Regions from separate parts of the Homo sapiens genome. Here region 1 is linked to region 2. Evidence: promoter capture Hi-C in 16 types of primary human blood cells and fetal thymus (Javierre and others, 2016). All regions are on one chromosome and are shown on one strand. The core of a region is centred on a gene start or on the middle of the fragment in contact, and the rest is flanking DNA. Distances in the headings are between cores, read along the strand shown.

Region 1 (5,678 bases), core at 3,179-5,678, 750 kb before region 2:
CATCATATCAGGTATGAAGACCCAAAAGGCTTATGGCCTTAGAGAATGACCAGTAAATCCACAAAAATATCTGGGGTGCCACTGTGGGGCCCAGCAACTGGATTACAGAGAAAGCATCCTGAAGGAAGTGATGTTTCCATTAAGGGCTGAAGGCAGAATAGGAATTAGCCTGCTGAATGGAGGCATAAAGGCACCTTAGACAAAGGAATAGCATGAGCAAAGGCATGAAGGTAAAATCATGATAGCAGCATATTTCTGAATCTTTTTTTTTTTTTTTTTTTTAGACAGTCTCTGTCTGTCACCATGCTGGAGTACAGTGGTGCAATCTTGGCTCACTGCAACCTCCATCTCCCAGGTTCAAGCCATTCTCCTGCCTCAGCCTCCTGAGTAGCTGGGACTACAGGCATGCACCACTATGACCAGCTAATTTTGGAATTTTTAGTAGAGATGGGGTTTCACCATGTTGGCCAGAATTGTCTCGATCTCTTGACCTCGTGATCCACCCACCTCGGCCTCCCAAAGTGCTGGGATTACAGGCCTGAGCCACCACACCAGGCCATTTCTGAATCTTAAAGATCAAGTTGCAGAGTGGACGACGTGGGGATGTGGAGGTGGCAGGAATTGAGACTGAGGAAGCAGCCAGTGGTCAAATTATGAAGGACCTATTGACACACCTTCGCAATTTTCTTATAAAAACCAAAGTTTTAAGCAATAAGATTATAAATTCATATTGGCATTTTGGATAGATACCACTGGAAGCAGTGTGAAGCAGAGAGAGGGGAACAAGACTGGAGGCAGGGAAACCATGTGTGATAGATTGAATTATTAGTCCTAATTCTTCACTTCACTATAGTAACATTACACATCCACACCTCTTCCATGTCCTCATGGTGGGTGCCATTCATTTCCCACATGTTGTCTTTGGACTCAGTTTGGCCAGTAGGATATTAACAGGCATGGCACAAGTAGAGATTTGAAATGTGCCTGCATGTTTGAGTTAATGCACTTGTGCTCCTGCCTTCCACGATGAGAAGAACATGTCGCTGCATGCCTCTGGTGTCAATAATCCCAGAAGGATGACAGACAAATGGGGCAAACTTAAACCCAACATGCAGTTGGGACTTGAGGCAGGTCCAGCCAAGCCCAATCCAAGGTTATTGAACCACAGCCAACTTGTAGGCACTCAGATGAGGAAGAAATGCTTGTCATTGTAAATCCCTGGGTTTGGGGGTGGTTAGTTTCAAGAATTATTGCTTCAGTAACTAATTTACATACCAGTTAAGAAGGTATTGAAAGAGGAACAAAAAGAAAAAAGAAAAAAAAAATAAGAGGATGATAAGGACTTAAAATAGGGTAATGGCAATAAAGATAAGAAAGAAGTAAATCGATGAAACACCTAAAAGGTAGAATCTAAAAGACAGGGTAAGTGGGGCACGGGGCTCATGCCTATAATCCCAACACTTTGGGAGGCCGAGGAGGGCAGATCATAATGTCAGGAGTTCGAGACCAGCCTGGCCAATATGGTAAAACCCTGTCTCCACTAAAAATACAAAAATTAGCCAGGCAAGGTGGCACGCACCTGTCATCCAGCTTCTTGAGAGACTGAAGCAGAATTGCTTGAACCCGGGAGGCGGAGGTTGCAGTGAGCCGAGATTGTGCCACTGCATTCCAGCCTGCATGACACAGCGAGACTCTATCTTGGGAAAAATAAATAAATAAATAATAAAAGACACGGTAACTGATTGGATATGGAAAGTAAGTCAAGGAAGCCTCTTGGGATCCTAGCTGAGACAACTGAATGAATGGAGACAAATGTCACCAACTGAGTTGAGGGATGTAAGAGGGATGAAGAAGAAGCATATTCGGTTAGATGACGACTCTAGTTTTGATATGGGGAGCTTGAGCAGCCTGTCGGGTATCCAAGTGGAAATGACTGGAAATCTATTAGAAAAGAGGGAGAGGGATGTAATGAACTTGGTTTGGTTTTGTTCGGTTTCTGCTCTGCATCTTATGAACCTACTTTATATGCCAGAGGCTCTCCCATTGTATGGATTTGGTCGGAGACATCACACCCACTAATTCTCCAAAAGTCCAAAAGGCCAGATACTTACTCTCCATGACATCTGAGGTCATGAGTCACATGACCCAAGTATTGCCAATCAGCTAATTCTGCTCAATGCTTTGTTCATTAGTGAAACAAAAAAGCAGGGGATAGCTGAAATTTCATTCAAATGACGCCAGTGGTAACATCCAGCGTCCTGTGTTGGTCCAAGCAGGAGTATCTGCATCCTGTGGGGGTGGCCATAGTATACCCCACCCCATCCTACCCTGGCTCCTGCTCATTTTCTAAACCTGGTTCTCCAGCCCCACTGCAGTCTCTGTGAGCTATCCAATATCCTCCCTAAATCATTTCCTTTTCTGATTAAGTCATCCAAAGTGGGTTACTGTTGTTTGCACTGAAGAACCCCAACTAGTAAAGAAATTTACAACAAGACAGAGCCACAAGGAAATGGAGAGTTTGCCGGAAGATTGGTTATAAGTCTAGTCAGAATACTAAAATCCAGTTGATATTCAGGGAATCTGGCAGTCAGTGGCTCACAGTGGTAAATTGCTCAAATTAAATGCTCACTTATAGTCACCTGGAATGAAGAATTCATTAAGGCAAAACTTTGAAGACCATATCGCTACTTGCATAGAATGAAATGAAGAGCTTGAGTCATACAGACTGTTGTAAATGTAGCTTTTCCCAAGAGAACAAGAGAGTTAAAAAAAAAAAAAAAAGAAGACAAGCTTAAATCTCTAAATGTCCAACTCAAAGACTTTCCAGTAATGTGCTAAAATGATATCTTATTTACAGTCTTTTAAGGCTAGCATAGCTGAAAGCCAAGCACAGAAGTGCATTGCCAAATTTCAACATCTGCTGAGGTGACATACTGAAGCAGCTACATGGTCCAGGGTATATACCCTGGGGTTCGTCATCTCGCGCCGGGAAAATTTAGGACAGGGAGACACACGAGGAGTTTAGGAGCAGAGATTTAATAGAGAGAAGAGAAGAGAAATAGAAACAGCTCTCTCTCTAGAGAGGGGTCTCCCAACAGAAAATGACCAGCTGGTGGAGGAGGCACTGGGTTTTATAGTCCAGCTTGAGGAGATGTCGCCTGATTTACGTAGGGCTCACAGATTGGTTGGATCAGGTATGATGTTTACACAGCCCCGGGGAAGGCTGGCTACCCTGCCCTAATCTTATTATGTAAATGAACTCTCCTGCTGACCCGTGCCACCTTGTCTCCTTTTTACTGTACACGTGGCTGATAAAGAGAAGGGAAGATGGGGCCACCATTTTGAACATGATTGGCACAACTGCCGGTATCTATCAGCTCAATTTTACAGGCTGCTCTTTGTTAGAAGGGAAAATGATTTGGGGCTGCTTTTCATTAAAAGGAAAATCTTACTGAGGACTTCCCTACCCTCACTATCTGCCTAAGTAATTTCTTAACTTCTATATCAAAACTCCCTAGGTATGTTATATAAAGGATAGGGCATTGTTCAGAAAGGACTGTGGCCCCTACATGGGGCACGATGGCTCACGCCTATAATCCTACACTTTGGGAAGTCAAGGCAGGAGGATCACTTGAGCTCAGGAGTTTAAGACTAGCCTGGACAATATACTGAGACCTCATCTCTACAAAAAAAATTAACTGAGCATGGTGTTGCATACCTGTAGTCTCAGCTATTCAGAAAGCTGAAGTGGGAAGATCACTTAGCCTGGGAGGTTGAGGCTGCAGTGAGCCAAGACTGCACCACTGCACTCCATCCTGGACGACAGAGAAAAACCATGTCCCCGCCCCAAAAAAAGACAGCGACCCCCAAAATTGTAATAAGGACATTTGGGAAGATCTCGGAGACTCATAGAACACCAAACATGGAACCCTCCGGGTCTCTCTTGCCAGCTAAAAGGCATGTCCCTCCCTTGTCTGATGAGGCTGCTCCTGCGTAGTTTGAAGATGCTCTAACTCTGTGCACAGACTTCCTCACAGAAAGAAGCCAGCTCTGCTCATGCCTCTTTCCTCCACGCCGTCACTCATGGCTCATAAGTCTGTAAATAGAGTCAGACTCTCGCATGACCTGGAAGCAGGAAGTGGAGCTTTTGATTACTTAAAAAGTTAAATCCCCACCAAAAGACTCAGATAAGCAGATTCTAAGGTGGAGATTAGCAAGCAAGACCTTTATCAGGAAGTGAGCTTGAGACCACCCCTGTGGAGCAGAAGGGACAGAAGCAGCCTTGGGCAAGGAAGCAGTTGTGCTGTGCGCACAATTAGCATAGCTCTGGAGCTAGATGGTCATTTAGAGCTCTTCTGAGTTGGAACCAAGGAGCCAGCCTTTGTTAACCCAACTTTGACCAGTCGTTGGATGTGGCTGCTTCATGATGGGGACATGACCTTGGGCTAGGGACATTTCTTCACTCAAGGCATCCCCAGAGTGAGCTGCTGGCTGAGGGCCCACTCCCAGCAGCTGGGAGAGTAAGTCCTTCATTTCTGAGAGGGGATACAGTGGTGCACCACAGTGTCCAGCACCGTGCATTATTTTAAATCAGCCTGAAATTAATCAGGAGTATGCTCACCAGAAATCAGGAGACAGTGTGCTATCTCCAGCCATTGCAAGTGGCCCTAATTGCTGCCTGTCAGTTGTTTTGAAATGTGGGCTCAACAGTGGCTCATGTGAAATGAAATTCCATGAAACAATGGAAGAAATAATCCAAAAATTTCGGAATATAGAAGTGCTGGAGAGGATTTATCATGTGTCACCTACCCATTCATCTGCTAATTCTCTCTCAAGAGGGCCCAGAAGAGGGCCCAGATTGGTGAGGGAGCACCTCTATCTCTGAGAAGCAGTCTTGTGACTGATTTCCGTAAACTAAAGATGCAATTGTAAGCAGTTGAAATGGGATCCCTGATTTTAATGGAAAAGGAAAGATACCAGAATAGCAGAAGCTGATTTCAGGCACTTAACTACAAAAGACAAGATAATCATGGTAGTTATAATAGACAAGAGGGCTGGAATGGTAATAAAAATGATCCAACCTGACTTGATGGGGGCTAACTGATGAAGTCTGGGGTAGAAATTGAAGTTCTCCATCAATATCCACTCTCTTGTTCTCTCTAACCCAGCCTCCTTTCAGCTGATATGGTTATATAACCAGCTCTGGCCAATGAAGTGAAAGAAGAAAGGTGGGCTATCTTCATCCATTGTGCTGCTATAACAAAATACCTGAGACCGGGTAACTTGTGAAGAACAGGAATTTATTTATCACAGTTCTGGAGGCTGGGAAGTTCAAGATCAAGGCACCAGTAGGTTTGCTGTCAGTGAGGGCTGCTCTCTGCTTCCAAGATGGTGCCTTGTTGCAGCATCCTCCAGAGGTGAAAAATGCTATGTCCTCACATGACAGAAGGGCAAAAAAGGGCCAGACTCTCTGTGAAGGCTCTTTTATGAAGGCTTTATTCCTATTCACAAGGGAGAAGCCCTCATGATCTAAGCATCTCCCAAAAGGCCCCACCTCTTAATACTGCCACTATGAGGATTAAGTTTCAATATGTAAATGTTGGAGGGGACACCATCACTCAAACCACAGCATGGGTCATCTCCAGGACATGCCCTTAAAGGAGGTGGGGAGGATACCA
Region 2 (5,702 bases), core at 1,383-3,882:
AGAGTTTCTGATTCAGCAAGTCTGGGATGAGCTGAGAATTTTGTTTGTTTGTTTGTTTGTTTTTGAGATGGAGTTTCGCTCTTGTTGCCCAGGCTGGAGTGCAATGTGGCACCATCTCAGCTCACTGCAACCTCTGCCTCCCGGGTTCAAGAGATTCTTCTGCTTCAGCCTCCCAAGTAGCTGGGATTACAGGCACCCACCACCATGCCCGGCTAATTTTTGTACTTTAGTAGAGATGAGGTTTCATCATGTTGGCCAGGCTGGTCTCGAACTCCTGACCTCAGGTGATCCGCCTGCCTTGGCCTCCTAAAGTGCTGGGATTACAGGCATGAGCCACTGTGCCCGGCCTGAGAATTTGTATTTCTGACAAATTCCCAGGATATGCTGATGCTGCTGGCCCAGGAACCACTTTTGAGAACCACTGGTTAATTGAATGTACCACAGTGCTTAAGAGAAGGTAGGCGGCCAGGCGCGGTGGCTCACGCCTGTAATCTCAGCACTTTGGGAGGCTGAGGCAGGCAGATCATGAGGTCAGAAGATGGAGACCATCCTGGCTAACACGGTAAAATCCCGTCTGTACTAAAAATACAAAAAAACTAGCCAGACGTGGCGGAGGGTGCTTGTAGTCCCAGCTATTTGGGCGGCTGAGGCAGGAGAATGGCGTGCATCTGGGAGGTGGAGCTTGCAGTGAGTGGAGATCGGGCCACTGCACTCCAGCCTGGGCTACAGAGTGAGACTCCGTCTCAAAAAAAAAAAAAAAAAAAGAGAAGGTAGGCTGAGTTTGAATACCATCCCTGCCACTCACTAGCTGTGTGATCTTAGGTGACTTAACCAATTTGAGCCTGTTTCCTCATCTGTAAAAAATGGGGATAATAATAGTATATGTATATCAGGACTCTTGTGAGGATTATGTGTAATAATGAAAGTAATATGCTTAGCACTGTCCCTGACACATTGAAAACATTCAATGAATCCTTCCAGCTATCACTGGAAAGGCTGGTACAATATCAGCCACTAAATAAGCACTGAACCCAGCTTAAGAATTCCTCCTCAGGCTTAAAACTTCATAAGGCTTTGAATTCATAAGCAGTGAGAATGAAGGTTGTCACTGTGGCGTGACATCTATAATTAACAGCTTCTGAAATTAAGCCAGATTCCTAAAAAATACAACATAAAGGGTCTTCAGAAACGCCTCTCCCTATAGTATGCTTGATGTAAATCCCCACGTGTACAAAGGCCATGTGTCTCTTTAAAGTTCAGGGGATGTCGAGGAGGTACCTCCTTCACACCTTCCACTGCTGAAGGATACTGAAGAGCTTGGAGTTGCTGAAGTCACCCAGGCATCTGGGCTAATGGATTGACAGACAAAAGAGGAGCCCATCATTCAATAATTAATTAGTTGCAATCATGGGAAGACAACGTCCCCCAGAGCAGATAGGACAGCCACCTCCTCCAACCTGGTAGTTTCAAAGCACCCAGGCCCTGGCTGCTCTCAAACCTCTTTATCCAATGTTTCCCCTCAGGGTCTAGCTGAGCAGTTACACTGGCTGACATTCTCTTAAGAAAGCCCAAGAGGAAATGTGCAGAAAAGACAATTTTCAGACCTTGTCTCACAGTCCTGCAGGCCCTGGGACAGGGTATCCAGGGATGTAGGTCTGGTCTAGCTGTATCCCTGTCTCGATAATATAGGAGACAAGGGTCAAGATCCTATCTCTCTGTGAACCATGAATCCTGGGAACGCTGTCAGTTCAATCAAACCCTGCAAAGTTGAATGAGATCATCTCTGGGAGAATTAGTATTTAGCAGAGGCTGCGGCTGGGGGTTGTGGAGAGCTGCTGCTGCCCTTTAGAAGCCCTTCCATTCCCCATCCCCTTCTCAGAAGAGAACCCACCACCTCCTCTCACCCAGGGGTACTCTTACCCTGATGCCCAGAAAAAGGACGACGCCCCCCCACCACAATTTTCACTCCTATCTCCAATTTCCTAAACAAAACCATCACAGCCAGGTACAGTGTCCACACACTCGAATGGAGCACCACCCCAGGCAGCCCCAGGGCAGGGGTTTCTCTCCCATCACCCTGGCCAGGCCCTGGTTCCAGCTGGTAGGCAGAGTGAAAAGGGGGTGTGTGCACGGGAGACTGGAGGGGAACAGGGACCCAAGTCCTCCGGAGGTGAGGAGAGGCTGGGTCCCCGCACCTGGGGTCACTAGCTGGGAGATAAAAACCAAGGCAGGTGGGGGTTCCTTCCAGGAAAGAGCCACACGGTGTCTCTCCCCTTCTCACCATTTCTCATTGATCAACCTTCTGTCTTCCCGTTCTCTCCCTTCCATCCCTCCCCTCCCTCTTTGTTTGCCTTCTCCTCGCCTCCGCGTTTGAGCACCCAGCCCTCCCCACGAGCGCGACTCGGACGCCGCAGTCAGCAGCTCGGGGACCCCGGCCCCGCGCCCGCCACCCGGCCCCCTGCCCTGACCGGCCCTCCCGGCTCCTGGTCTCACCCAGAAGAGCAGGTTGAAGCCAAGCAGCAGGTACTTGATGCACCGCAGGCCCCCGCGGAAGCGCCCCATGCTGCGGCCCGGCGGCGGGATCCCCAGTCCCCAGGCCCGCGCTACGAGCGCGGGGAGCGGCAGGCTCCGGCGGGGAGGGGGCGGAGCGGGGAGGACCGGGGCGGGGCCTCCGGGGGGCGGGGCGGGGCCCGGCGGGGAGGGGCGCGTGGACCCCAAGCGGCGTGGCTGGCGACGGGTGGGGGCGCCAGCGGGTGGAGATCGAGCAGCCCGAGGGAGCACGTTCGCTCTTCTCCCGGACCCAGGGACCACCTTCCTTCCCTCCAGTGGGCGCACCGCCGCCGGCTATCGGAGCACCTGCAGGGCGGGAGCGCCCACCGGGGACTGGGGACCCATTTAATCAGCGCCCTGTGCGGAGACCGGTTTGAGGCCCGGGCGATGCTTGAGGGATAAGCACTTGGTCTCGTGGCTATGGAAATCTAGGAAGGTGACCTCGGGTAGAAGAGCTAAGTGGGGTCGGAGGTTGCCCCGAAGCTGGCAGGACCAGTCGCGGGGCACCTGACTGAGTGTCCAGGGCTGCGGCTCCGCGGCGCGGAGCAAGCACACAAGCAGCTTCTAGGGGACCCTCCCTCCGGCCCCTCCCCCCTCCTCGGGGGACTCTTACCTTAATAGGCAAGAACTGAGAGAGGGTGCGGGAGGCGGCGCCCTGAGTCCTGTGGGCTGCCCTCAACCCAGCCGGCCAGTGGAGGGAGTCTGACTTCTCATGTCCTGCCGGGTTCCACTGATCGGAGGGCTTGGAAGGATCCCAAATTTTCGGGATCTTAATTATGATGTGGAGATGGGAGAAAGGGGAAGGGGGCGGTTTTTGTTTTGCTTTGTTTTTATTAAGTTAGGCTGTTGGCAGGAAAATCAGACTCCCACTTCCATTGACTAAGTGTCTACAATATGTGGTGTCAGACAGTATGGGGGAGACAAGAAAGCAAAATTCGGAGAGCTTATGCATAAATTCAGCAAAACTTTGAGTGCCTATTATAGGCCAGACATAGTAGCAAGCCCCAGGGACTCAACAATGAGGAGACAGCCAGGCCCAGAACCACAGTCTCTGGTGTTGGAGACAGATCTGTAAGCAAATAGGGTGAGGAGAGAAGGGCTGGGTGCTAGACAGGTGTGCCTGGCCTGACTGCCTTAACCAGAAAAGGCATTGCTAAGGAGAGGGGCCTGATCTGGTCTAGAAGACGGAGCCCAGGCGGAAAAGATCAGTCCAGGAAGACAGCATGCGCAAAAGCACAGAGCTGGAGAGAACAAGGCCTCCAAGGGAGTTCTGAGAACCGCAGTTAGCCCGAGTGAAGCCTGGTGGGGGCAGAGTGAGTCAGGAAGGCAGGAGCCAAATCACAGCTTTCAGTCGGCTGACCAATGTGCCAAACTGTCATTGGCCCCGAGTGTCCCCACGTGCAACATGGAGGTAATAGTACTCCCCTCATAGAGTTGTGAAGATAAATGAGTTAGTATTTGTGAAGTGCCTAGAACAGTGCCTGGCACAGATTAAGTACTGCATAAGGGTTAGTATTATTGTATCACACTCTTATCAGTCAACCATTCAGTTTCTACCATGTTGCCATCTTTGCCTACCTCTGTGTCTTTGGACATTTGTTTGAATATCGACTCATTTATAAAAACGAGTCAAAGACAGAAAAATGAAAGTGCTGATTCTAGTAATAAACATGTCTCCAACAATGAAATAAAGACAAAGATGGAAGTCATTAGGTATGCAGAGAGAAGTGAATCATTAGCTTCAATCAAACACTTATAGTTCTATATCTGTCACCTCTGTTTTAGTATAAAGGAAAAGAACTAAGTTAAAGAGTAGTGTCTGGTACATAGAAGGCGTTCAGTAAATCAACTGAATGAACAATGATATTATACTTTAAATATATCGTTGAATTTTACATCTCTAAGACAAAATATGTCTAGAGATTATATAGAGGGAAGAGAACCCCTATTGTAACATATACATCTATTGTTTGTTTTTTTCATGCTACGATTTTAGCACACATGTATTAGAGACAGATGGTGGTTGCCTGTCCAACATAACAGTTTCAGATCTTTAGTATAGACTTGCCCAGTCGCCCTTTCACAAAGTTGTATGTCTTAAGGGAAGCTGACCCTTGAGAGGAATAGGCGAAGGTAATCCCATTTCCCTTGTAGTTAGTTCAGGAAACAAATTGACAAGCATCCTGACTAATGGGATGGGAGTGGTGTCTACTGAGGGGCCAGATGGTCTTCTTCCTCTTGAAGCTGTTGGATCTGGATGGTATACATAGAGTTGCTATATCCATCTTCATACCAGCCTGAGGAGAGATCCAACATTGAAAACAGCAAAGCAGGAAGTTGAAAAAACCAGAGTCATAGGTGATATTACGCCATAACTGAGTTAGCCATTTCTGAAGCCAATTGAGGTTTAGGTTTTTGTGTACATGTATGTGTATGTGTGTGGACGCATGTGTGTTAGTCCATTCTTGTGTTGCTACAAAGTAGTACCTGAGACTGGGTAATCTCTAAAGAAAAGAGATTTAATTGGCTCACAGTTATGCAGGCTGTACAGGAAGCATAGTGCTGACATCTGCTTCTGGTGAGGCCTCAGGAAGCTTTCAGTTGTGGTGGAAGGTCACAGGGAGCCAGTGTGTACACAGCGAGAGTGGGAGCAAAAGAAGTGGGGAGTTCCACACTCTTTTAAACAACCAGATATCACATGTGAACTCAGAGCAAGAACTCACTCATTATAGGGAGGATGGCATCCAGCCATTCATGAAGGATCCACTCCGATCCAATACCTCACACAAGGTCCCACTTCCAACATGAGGAATTGCCATCATCAACATATATGTATGTATTGTGCCTGAAAGGCATTCCATACATTTTCAAGGGTATATTACTATAAGAAAGTACAGGGCTACATTAAATGACATAATAAGGAAGTTAGCCTTTAAACTGTCACTGGCATTGCTCCCTTTTCTCTTTTTCCTGTCTTGAACTCAGACATGATGCTTGAAGTGCTAGAACATTTTGTGACTATGAAGAAAGGGCAAGACAATTGCAGACCTTCCAGCTAGGACATTGTGGAACTGCTGAACCAATACCAGCAGCTACCTAACTCCACATTTCTTATTATATAGGAAAAATAACCCTCTTTTTGTTTGACTTTG

What was found. The method cuts DNA at HindIII sites, captures the fragments that hold promoters and counts their contacts. A CHiCAGO score of 5 or more calls a contact.
Region 1: a fragment that was not itself captured here is called in contact with the fragment with the promoter of TSPAN2 in region 2 in 2 of 17 cell types (total CD8 T cells and non-activated CD4 T cells); the score reaches 5.4 in total CD8 T cells.

Annotation. Positions count from the first base shown.
Region 1 is chr1:114,335,484-114,341,161 of GRCh38, forward strand. No RefSeq gene overlaps it. Among named protein-coding and RNA genes, the nearest start is that of TRIM33, 170 kb to the right of the region's middle. The HindIII fragment of the contact is 3,280 bases long and covers 2,789-5,678 here.
Region 2 is chr1:115,086,871-115,092,572 of GRCh38, forward strand. It overlaps TSPAN2 (tetraspanin 2), which reads right to left and starts at 2,633. Exons shown (of 8, transcript NM_005725.6): 1 at 2,494-2,633. The coding sequence starts at 2,562. The HindIII fragment of the contact is 10,227 bases long and covers 1-5,142 here.